2 separate regions of the Homo sapiens genome follow, and region 2 is linked to region 1. The links are contacts of gene promoters, found by promoter capture Hi-C in blood cells and fetal thymus (Javierre and others, 2016). All regions are on one chromosome and are shown on one strand. The core of a region is centred on a gene start or on the middle of the fragment in contact, and the rest is flanking DNA. Distances in the headings are between cores, read along the strand shown.

Region 1 (5,633 bases), core at 3,134-5,633:
CTCTACTAAAAATTACAAAAAAAAAAAAAAATCAGCTGGGCATGGTGGGGAGCGCCTGTTGTCCCGGCTACTAAGGAGGTGGAGGTTGCAGTGAGCCGAGATTAAGCCACTGCATTCCAGCCCTGGTATCAAAGCAAGATTCTGTCTCAAAAAAAAAAAAAAAAAAAAAAAAAAATCTTTTTGGCAGCTGTGTGGAGCACAGACCAGGAAACTTTCTGTTAAGAGCCAGAAGGTAATATTTTAGGTTTGCAAACCATATGGTCTCCATGGAGACTACTCAAATCTGCTGTTAGGGAGGAAAAGCAGCCATGGACAGGGTACAAACGAATGAGTGTGGCTGTGTTCCCAGTAAAACTACTTACAAAACCAGGCAGCAGCCTAGATTCAAGCCCTCTAGTTTGCCTACCCTGGAATAGACTACAGGGGACCATGTGATGGTAGGTAGACCAGGTGGAAGGCTGTGCAATTAAAATGGAGCCACAGGCAACTGTCACCTGTACCAGGGGTAGCAGGGAAGATGATGAGATGTGGTCCATTGGGGTATAAGATGGGGGCAGAGACAACAGGACTGCTGGTAGATCAGATATGGGTGTGGGAAAAAAGAGGATTTGGCTGGGTGTGGTGGCTCATGCCTGTAAATCCAGCACTTTGGGAGGCCAAGGCGGGTATATCACCTGAGGTCAGGAGTTCGAGACCAGCCTGACCAACATGGCAAAAACCCATCTCTACTAAAATTACAAAAATTAGCCTGGCGTAGTGGAACATGCCTGTAATCCCAGCTACTTGGGAGGCTGAGATGGGAGAATCACTCGAACATGGGATGCGGAGGTTGCAGTGAGCCGAGAGCGCACCATTGCACTCCAGCCTGGGTGATAAGAGTGAAACTCCATCTCAGGGGAAAAAAAAAAAAAAAGAGCTTTGTCTTGGCTAACTGGAAAAACAGCTGTTTTCTGAGAGAAAATCAGGTTGAAGGGGAGGCGGGTGGATTAGAGATAAAAATTGAATATGTGGATTTAGACATGTTAAATTTGGGATATTTATTAGATATCTATCAAAGCCATTTAGTTGGATATAGGACTTGGAGCTCAAGAGAGGTTGAGTTTACAGAAATAAGTTCCTGAGTCTTCATTTGTTTAGATGGTCTTGAAAACCACAGGAAAGGATGAGATCGCCTGCAAAGTATGTGTAAATAGAACAGGAAAGTCTGAGGGCAGTTTGACAGAGGGGTCTCCCAAACCTCCAAGGACAGCTGATCCTAGTCTTCCATTCACTGTTCCAGGGAATAGGAGAGAACCCTCCACCCTCAGTGCATGAGGCTAGCATGTCCTGAACACCTAAATACTATCACTTATAGGCCAACCTCACATGTATACAGGTAAAAAAAAGGGCTCAATATATGAGTAAAACAAATCTAGAATTTGTAACATGACCAGTAGTATTTATCCCAGGATGGCAAAGGAACTCAGATATTATTATCTTCATATAATTTACCACGTGGACTAAAGAACCTAGAATCATATGAATAGAAAAGCATTTGGTAAAATTTAACCCCCTCTAGTGATTTCAAAGCAAAGCAATTTTTTAAAAGCAGAGGGTTTTAGATGGGGACTTCCTTAACCTGACAAAATGTACTTACCAAATGCTTCTTTTTTAAAAAACAAGAAGGAAATAAGGATGTCAGACCTGATCTCATGTTCACCCAATATTCCACTGCAGGGCCTAGCCAGTGCAGTAGGATTAAAAGAAAGAAAGAAAGAAAAAAGACCTGGCGTGGTGACTCACGCCTGTAATCCCAGCACTTCGGGAGGCCAAGGCGGGCGAATCACCTGAGGTCAGGAGTTCGAGACTAGCCTGGGCAACATTGTGAAACCCTGTCTCTACTAAAAATACAAAAATTAGCCAGGCATGGTGGTGCACACCTGTAATCCCAGCTACTCCGAAGGCTGAGGCACTAGAATTGCTTGAACCTGGGAGGCAGAAATTGCAGTGAGCTGAGATTGCACCACTGCACTCCAGCCTGGGTGACAGAGTGAAACTCCATCTCAAAAAAAAAAAAAAAAAAGGCAAGAACTGCCATTATTCACAATTATTATATGCATAGAAAACTTAAGTTATTAGAAACTAGAGAATTTCTGGATGCACAACCAATATGTAGATCGACCATGTTCCTGTCACTAGCAGTGAATGGTTTAAAGCAGCAGTCTCCAATCATTGTGGAACCAGGGAATGGTTTCCTGGAAGACAATTTTTGCATGGATGGGGTGGGAGTGGGGGGTGGTTTTGGGATGAAACTGCTCCACCTCAGATCAGGCATTCGATTCTCATAAGAAGCATGCAACCTAGACCCCTCGCACGCACAGCTTACCATAGGGTTCATGCTCCTCTGAGAATCTAATGCCGCTCTGATCTGACGGGAGGCAGGGCTCAGGGGTAATGCTGGCTAGCTGGCTGCTCACCTCCTGCTGTGCTGCCTGGTTCCTAACAGGACGAGTTCTGGTCCTTGACCCGGCAGTTGGGGACCCCTGGTTTAAAGTGTAATTTTTGCAGACAGCTTAACTGGCCCAAGGTCACACAGCTCTAGGAAGGGGTGAGCTGGGCTGGACCCCGGCTTTCTGCATGGGCTGTGCTACCTCCCTAGCATGGCTCATTTCTGTAGGGTGAATGCACCCTCGTGTGTGTCCATCCCCACCCAAGGGTGAGGGTGAGGCTGACAGCAGTCTTCCAGCCAGCAGGGAAATGCGCACCATGGGGAGGACTGAGGCCTGGAGTGAGGCAATGGTGACCGGCTGCATCTTCTTGTCCTCCTGGTTTGCTGGGGGCAGGATCTCCACGCGATGCATCTCCTCTTTGGCTTTCTCCCCCAAGCAAATCTGAGCGGGGTTGAAAATAGAGGCCCCTCATCACCCTGAGGGCCGACGGGAGAAATCCATAGCCCTCCGTTGGGACCAGAAAGTTCCCGGACACCATCTTCCTCCCCTCTTTTGGGAACACCTACCGTATGAAGCAACAGCCTGCAGCTCTGCTTCCCCTCCAGCTGGGGTCTGAAGGTCCAAGTCCGCCTCTCCTGACTGAGCTCGCAGCCTGCGGAGGAGAAAGGGAGGGAAGTGGGGCCCTCCATTCGTTCCCAAAGGAGGGGCTCACCTGCGCCCCAAGCTGCCGCGCACCGGAGGTGGGGCGTGTCTCTGGGAAGGAGCCTGAGTCCCCACTCACCCCAGAGCACGGTCGTCACTGCCTTTTCCTCCGTGCTACTGGCGCTACTGAGATTCATGGCTCCGGGCAGAGAAGCGGGCTGGCCGGGCAGCTGCAAGGAGGGCGCCCGCGTGAGGCCTTGCTCCCTGACCCTGACCCTCGACTGGAGGATGCCAGAGACCAGCAGGCATCGGCAGGTACTGAGGGGTCGCTCGCGGCTGGAGGGGACCTGCCACGGTCAAGGGCTCACCGGCAACTCCTGGAGGACGAGTACCCACCTCCTAGCGGGGTGCGCAGCCCGGGGCTCGACCGGGCGCGTACAGGACAGCGGGACTCACGGGAGAGGGAGCTGTCCACCGAGCTCAGGCTTGAAAGGCCGCGGGGAGGTCACCTGGCTGCGCTTGGGCCTGACTCAAAAGCCTCTGTGCACCTCCACCAGACGCAGAGAAAGGGGTGTGCGCGCGGCTTAGGTCCCAGCTCCCCCCACACAGCCTTACTGTCGCTGCTCCGCGCGGGGCCAGTCACGCCATCGGCGCTCCCGGAGCGCAGCGCAACCTCATCCCCTCTGGCCGGAAGGCGGCTGTCCAAGCCCGGGCTAAGAAGCCTGGGAAGGGGAAGGGCAGGTGTCCAATTAGTCGCAAAGAAGCCGCCTCCCTCTCCCCTTCCCTTCTCCCATTCTTTCCTCCTCTGCGCGGCAGAATCACCTGGAGGGCTGTTAAGGGGCGCATTGCCGCGCCCCACTCCACAGCTGCCCTTGGCGTCGGTCTGGGTGGGGCCGAGGGAATTTGTAGTTCTAACCAGTTCCCAGGTGAGGCTGATGATGCCGGCCCAGGACCTTTCGTGAGAAGCTGTCCCGGCCAATTGCGGACCCGCCGAGGCCTCCTGGCGCCCCCTCCCCAGCCCATGGAGAGGAAGCCTCAGCTCAGCTTAGGAAGGGAGGCCTGCAGCCGGCAGGAAGCTGCAGTTGGAAGCCCTCCTTCTTGTTCGTTGCCTTTCTTCCTTTCCTTTCCCCATGCCTTATACAGCATGGGCCTTTCCTAAGGCCCAGACAGCCCGTTCTTCCAGCCTACCGTGAGAGCGAGCGAGCCCTGTCTCCAGAACGGTGAGATCTCCCGCGGAGAGCCGCAGCGGGCAGGTGGGGTGGGGAGGTGAGCCGGGAGGCGAGGCGCCGCGGCAGGGGGCGGGGAGCACACTGAGGAGCACGGCTAGCGACGCTACAGGGCCAAGCACGTGACCAGCAGCTGGTCCCAGGCTCAGTGGGCAGTGAAGAGGAAGTGGGGTTTCAGCGGATATACCCTGGAGACACCTCAGATAACCAGGGATCTCCCGCACACCCCTGGGACAGGGGCTCATTGCCACGGAGAGGTCAGAATCTTTTATTCCTGGAAGCTGGGGTCAGCCTCCCTGTGAATTGGCCAGGACAACCCAGGAGAGGCTTGGGGGCCTGCCAGGGCCCCCTAGGCTCCCTATCCCCAGCTGAGCAGTTCCAGTCTCCTTGGCTGTCCCTGAGCTCTCTGTCCCTGGCAAGGCGCCTATTGAAGGTGACAGCCATTGCAGCCAAGTGTGTGGTAAAGATGAGCAAATGGCAGGCACATGCATGCCATGCACAGACGTTCAAGAATTCACTCAACAAACGGTGATTCCGCCAATTGGGCGGGACCTGGGCATCCCGCGGTGAATACGACAGCCCCTCAAAGGGCTTCCAGCCTCATTGGAGAGCAGTGCTCAAAGCAAACCGGCCTTCAGTGGCCCCAGGCTACCCACCCCGTGAATAATCACACTGATGTCAGGCTGCAGCTGGGGGTCACAGTGAAGGCTAAATGGAGGCAGGGGAGGGGGATGACCCTGAGGTCATGACCTAGAGCTGGGACACTGGAACTGGACAGTCTGGGTTCAAGTCTGGACTGTGCTCTGTGATTTCAGGTGTGTTAATTCATAGCTCAGTGCCTCAGTTTCCTCATCTGCTAAATGAGGCTATAATATTGGTACCATCGTCATTAACTTTTTAAACTGATACATATTAATTGTACATATTTATGGGGTACATATGATATTTTTATACTTGCACACAATGTGTAATGAGCAAATCAGGGTAACTGGGGTACCTTCAACATTATTTCTTTTCTTTTTTTTTTTTTTTTGGAGATGGCGTTTCACTCTCATCACCCAGGCTGGAGTGCGGTGGTGCCATCTCAGCTCACTATAACCTCTGCCTCCCATGTTCAAGCGATTCTCCTGCCTCAGCCTCCCAAGTAGCTGGGTTTATAGGTGCTTACCACCATGCCCAGCTAATTTTCATATTTTTACTAGAGATGGGGTTTCACCATGTTGGCCAGGTTGGTCTCGAACTCCTGACCTCAGTGATCCTCCTGCCTAGGCCTCCCAAAGTGCTGGGATTACAGGCATGAGCCACTGGGCCCGGCTAAACATTTATCATTTCTTTG
Region 2 (5,633 bases), core at 1,629-4,128, 1.6 Mb after region 1:
TATGTAGCCCCTGCAGCTCATATTTCTATTTGAATTGCAGGGCAAGTAGTGAGTTTTAACATTCCAACTGCACACACATTCTTCTTTCCCTCAAAATGAAAGATCATTTGAACTTTGAATTGCATTAGCATGACATTTTTCTACTAAATTACCCTGGCTGCACTCAACAGCCTGAAAAGAAACAAACCTCTTTTAACTCTATAGGCTATGTGAGTGAATAAATACCAGAGGAAACGCCAGCAGAGAGGAGGAGGGAACCACAGCCTGGCAAGGCTTGGACACTCCCTGTGCTGTGGAGAGCCCATCTGTGATGCTGGCCTGGCAGACTGGGGGCCACTGCTGTCCCCCTACCATGCCAGGCCATGGCTGGGGCATTTGAATGCATGTAGCAGAAAGTGAATGTTTCTCAGCAGCTGTTGTTTTGTGAAAAATGAGGTGTAGCTTCTCATATCATTTTTTTAAAGTAATAATGTTTGCTTTTTCTTGTATTATAATTGCAGGCAATATTCATTGTGGGAAATCTGGAAAGCACAAAAAAGAATAAAGAAAACGAAAACCACCCCTACTCTTGCCATTTAGATAAACGATAACTTTCAGGGATATATTTTTGCAAATCTTTTTGAGGGAGTGGATGAAGTCCTATTTATATATGTGCATAGCATCCTTTTGTTTATCTTGCATAAATTAGGATATATATTTATGATTTGAATCTTTCTCCAACTTGACATTTCTTTTGTGAGCATTTTCCCATTTCTTTAAGAATCATGATTTGCAATGGTTGTACAATATTTCATCATAGGAGTGGATGCCATTTTTATTGGTATACATTAACATCACTTCAAGGTTTGCGTTTAAAATGCTGTGATGAACATGTTGTTGCATTTAATGGATATGATAAGTGATCATAGTGACCACTTCCTGAGTTCCTACTATGTGCCAACCATGGTAACAGACTCTTCCCAGAGGGTATAGTATATATTATAGTAATTTAACATATAATCATAATACATATTAACCCTTGTCATTTCCCTTAGAGGTGGTCATTATTCTCCACAATTTATAGGCAAAAAAAAAGTGAAGTACAGAGGTTAACTAACTGGTTCAAAGCCATCAGGGAAGAAGGAAACAATTCCCGGATTTGACCCCAGCATTCTCTGAGTCCAGTGTCTCTACTCTTTCACCTACATCCTGGGGTGTTACTACCACGCACTCCCATTTCCTTCTCTGAAGGTTGTAGGAAAAGTTGTCCTAGAACACTTAAATAAAAACCCAGCTCTGCCACAGAAGTCTATGTAAAGTCAGAGTCAGATCTGAGTACCAGGAACTCAGCAGGAGTTTGAGATTTGCCTCAGTCAAGGAACAGGGAATTATTTTCTGGATACAGGTTGTGGGTGATAAAGATTCTGCTTTGGGCAACTGCAGACACAGGATCCTCAGCTTCTCACTGTCTGCAGCAGGGGCCACATTTAGTGAAGAGCATCATAGCCTCTCAGAGCCACTTGGACTGAGTCTTCAGGCCACATTGACTGCTGGGTGCACGGTGAGCTCCAAGACAAAAATTTAGTGAGAAAAATAAATTGTGTCTTCTCAATGCTTGTTAACATGAAAACTCAGTGATACACTTGACATTTTCTGTTGAAGGAGGTCATATGGACCACCTTGCAGGATGATATATAAATATCATATTCCTACTAAATAAGGTGATGAGGATAAGTGATCTTAAGTATCTGACTGGATACATCGCAGTAACTCTGGCAAAGACACATGGATTTATCTGCTTTCATGAAGCTCCATGGCAAAGCAGTAGTTCTTAGCCCTGTCCGCCTCTCAAAGATCTATGCGAGGCAACCTTAGCCTTTGGGTGGAATAGAAACAAGATCCACCGGTCTCTCTACATCTTTACAACCCTATAAATGTGAGGTCTTGGTTTGAACTCCATGGCTACACATTCCACACAGTGTGCAGGCACCAGATGTGGCAGATACATTCTAATAATTTACAAACTGCCTGCTGGGCTCCAGGACAGCTTAACTATGCGTCAGCCCTGGGTTAGAGCCATTCAGGCTGCCTCTTTATTCCTCTCCCAAATTTTGTAAGATAGGGAGTAACATTTGGTACAGAAACATAAGCTTCTCCTGAGCCAGGCAGGGAAACACTCCTTGAAATGCCACTCCACTGCTTGCAGGAGAGAGACACAGCGAGCAGCATGTTTACATGGGATCAGGGACCTGCAGTGGAACCTCAATTAGTCATGTGGCCTCAGGTTAGTGAGTGAGTTTATCTGAACCTCAGTTTCTTCATCTGCAAAATTACTAGTTCATCTGTTAATTTAATTTTATTCCTTTACTGACTCCCTGCTATGATAACAACAGGTACCATCTATTGGATGGTATGTGCTAGCATAGTAACAGGTGCTGTTCAAACACCAAGCAATAAAACAGGCACTGTGTCTGCCTTCATGGAGTTTGCTATCAGGTGGGAAGTCACAGAGAAGACATAAGTGATCATATGTAAACAAGTGAGTATGTAAACACACATCGGGATGAGCACTGTTGGGCAAATGAACAGAATGCAACTCAGAATGCAACAAATTGCACTTGGTAAGAATGCATTGGCAAGAATCTATTTCAAAAAAAAAAAATTAAATTTTATGTACTGATCGTATATCCTGTGTCCCATGATTATTTCCTGAACTTTTTCATAGATTCCATAGGATTTTCTTCTTAGATGATTATGGTTGTCTACGAAATAAGACAGGTTTACTTTTTTTTTTTTTTTGAAACAGAGTCTTGGTCTGTTGCCCAGGCTGGCGTGCAGTGGCACGATCTCGGCTCAGTGCAACCTCTGCCTCCTGGGTTCAAGCAATTCTCCTGCCTCAGCCTTCCATGTAGCTGGGATTACAGGCACACGCTACCATGCCCAGCTAGTTATTGTATTTTTAGTAGAGACAGGCTTCATCATGTTGCCCAGGCTGGTCTTGAACTCCTGACCTCAAGCAATCCACCCGCCTCAGCCTCCCAAAGTGTTGGGATTACAGGCATAAGCCACCACACCTCGCCAGGTTTACTTCTTCCTTTATGATTTGGGTACGTTTTATTTTTCTTGCCTTATTGCCTTGGCAAATTCTTCAGTACAGGGTTGAATAAAAGTAGTGAAAGTAAACATCCTTAACTTTTCACTGATCTTAGGAGGAAGACATTCAGTCTTTCAGTCTTTCATCATTAAATGCAATGTCTGCTGTAGGTTTTTCCTGGACACCTTTTATTAGGTTGAGGAAATACCTTGCCATTCCTAGGTTGCTGAGAGGTTTTTATCAGAAATAGATGCTAGATTTTGGTAGTGTTTTCTCTGTACTCATCAAGATAATCAGGTGCCTTTTTTCCTTTTAACTAGTCAACATAAAAAATTGCATTGATTGATTTTCAAATGTTAAACCAGGCTTTCTTCTTATTATCGGTTATATTTTCCTGCTTCATAATTTTTTATCAAATGCAAGACACTGAAATATTTACCATGTTTGTGCTGGATATTTTTATGTGATTATTAAAATTATTGATCTTTGTACTGGGATGCAGTTAAGTTCATTGGAAACAGTTTGATCCTTTTATGTCTTGCTTTTAAGCTTTGTTAAGTGAGACCAGAGTGACATTAGATCTAGGTCTAATTTTCTCCTATTACTATATCAAACCTTTCTGAGTACTCTACCCAAACTCTGACAAATTATGACTGTTTTCACTCTGGCTGCTATGAACAAGAACAATTCCCAACCCTCTTTGCCCCCTAGAGTATATTCCACTAATTTTGGGGAGTGGTATCTGATCTTTGACAAACCTGACACAGACAAGCAATGGGGAAAAGAAACCCTATTTAATAAATGGTGTTGAGAAAACTGGCTAGCCAAATGCAGAAAACTGAAACTGGACCCCTTCCTCACACCTTACACAAAAATCAACTCAAGATACGGGAAACAACAGATGCTGGAGAGGTTGTGGAATAATAGGAACACTTTTACACTGTTGGTGGGAGTGTAAATTAGTTCAACCATTGTGTAAGACAGTGTGGCAATTCCTCAAGGTTCTAGAACTAGAAATACGATTTGACCTAGCAATCCCATTACTGGGCATATACCCAAAGGATTATAAATCATTCTACAATAAAGACGCATGCACCCATATGTTTATTGTGGCACTATTCACAATAGCAAAGACTTGGAACCAACCCAAATGTCCATCAATGACAGACTGGATTAAAAAAATGTGGCACATATACATCATGGAATACTATGCAGCCATAAAAAAGGATGAGTTCATGTCCTTTGCAGGGATATGGATGAAGCTGGAAACCATCATTCTCAGCAAACTATCACAAGATCAAAAAACCAAACACCACATGTTTTCACCAATAAGTGGGAGGTGAATAATGAGAACACATGGACACAGGGAGGGGAACATCACACACTGGGGCCTGCGGGGAGTGGGGGGCTAGGGGAGGGACAACATTAGGAGAAATACCTAATGTAGGTGACAGGTTGATGGGTGCAGCAAACCACCATGGCACGTGTATACCTACGTAACAGAACTGCACGTTCTGTACATGTAACCCAGAATTTAAAGTATAATAATTTTAAAAAATGAGGGGTGGTATTTTTCTCTGCCCTTGAGTAATGTGCTCACATATCTGCACCCATCAGTGCTCTGCGGAAGCCTTGAGTGGGATTCTGTAGCCCTCCAGAGTCCTAATCTGACCCTCTTCTCTCAGGCCCTCTGCCCTGCTATTCTAGTCTCCTTGGCCTCCCCAGACTTCCAACCTCTACCCTGTTTCTCCTTCCTTGTGCTACAGCCTGGAAACTTTCTCAAGCTGAGGCAACCCTACGGCTTACCCTGTTGTTGCCCATCTCGCGGAATCACTGTCACTTGTTGCCTGTTGTCCAATGTGTTGAAAACTTGTTCCATACATGTTGTCCAGTTTGTAGTTGTTTCAGGAGGAAAGGAATTAACAATGGGACATTGACTACACAGAAAACATTATAATCAGTCAGTGGCAGACAGAAGCAATGATGGACAACAGAAGGGACAGACATTATGTGAACACCAAAAGAGGAACCACAGAGATGACCAAGAGAGAAGAGCAGCCAACACACCATGAGTAATCACATAAATTCTTCTCTCTTTGCCCCAGCTCAGTTCCAAAGAATAAGTAAAGGGAAGATGGAGAGAACCACAACAGCTAGTCAGGGTAGCAGATAACAACAGCCCTCCACCCCAAACCACTGGAGTCACGCCTCTCCTACAAGAAGATGAGGTGAGGTTTGAACCAAAACTTCAAGCCTTTAAATGGATAGAACTAAAACTTAGCAACCCATGTCATTTTTATTTTTAAATGAACAAAAATTATGAAAGTGGATTTAGATATATTAAGGAAGCCCACTTCCCTGTGGAAAAGAAGGTTTCGAGAAAACACAATTTAGCAGCTACTGAAAATATATAAGTAATTTATGGCTACACTTCAACAAGTTAAGACATCTCAATCAAATCAGTTATACATATACCGGTTCAACTTCTTTGAAAAATAATATGGCAATAAATTTATCAAGAGTAATAAAATAAAAGTTTACATGCTTTGATCAATAGTGT

What was found. The method cuts DNA at HindIII sites, captures the fragments that hold promoters and counts their contacts. A CHiCAGO score of 5 or more calls a contact.
Region 2: a contact is called between a fragment that was not itself captured here and the fragment with the promoter of NPM2 in region 1, in 1 of 17 cell types (total CD4 T cells). The highest score is 6.0, in total CD4 T cells.

The regions. Positions count from the first base shown.
Region 1 is chr8:22,022,884-22,028,516 of GRCh38, reverse strand. It overlaps NPM2 (nucleophosmin/nucleoplasmin 2), which reads right to left and starts at 4,383. Exons shown (of 10, transcript NM_001286680.2): 1 at 3,894-4,383; 2 at 3,687-3,793; 3 at 3,211-3,301; 4 at 2,996-3,081; 5 at 2,745-2,870. The coding sequence starts at 3,268. RefSeq lists enhancers at 3,869-4,581, 4,582-5,295. The HindIII fragment of the contact is 16,503 bases long and covers 1-5,633 here.
Region 2 is chr8:20,400,206-20,405,838 of GRCh38, reverse strand. No RefSeq gene overlaps it. Among named protein-coding and RNA genes, the nearest start is that of LZTS1, 99 kb to the right of the region's middle. The HindIII fragment of the contact is 1,493 bases long and covers 2,132-3,624 here.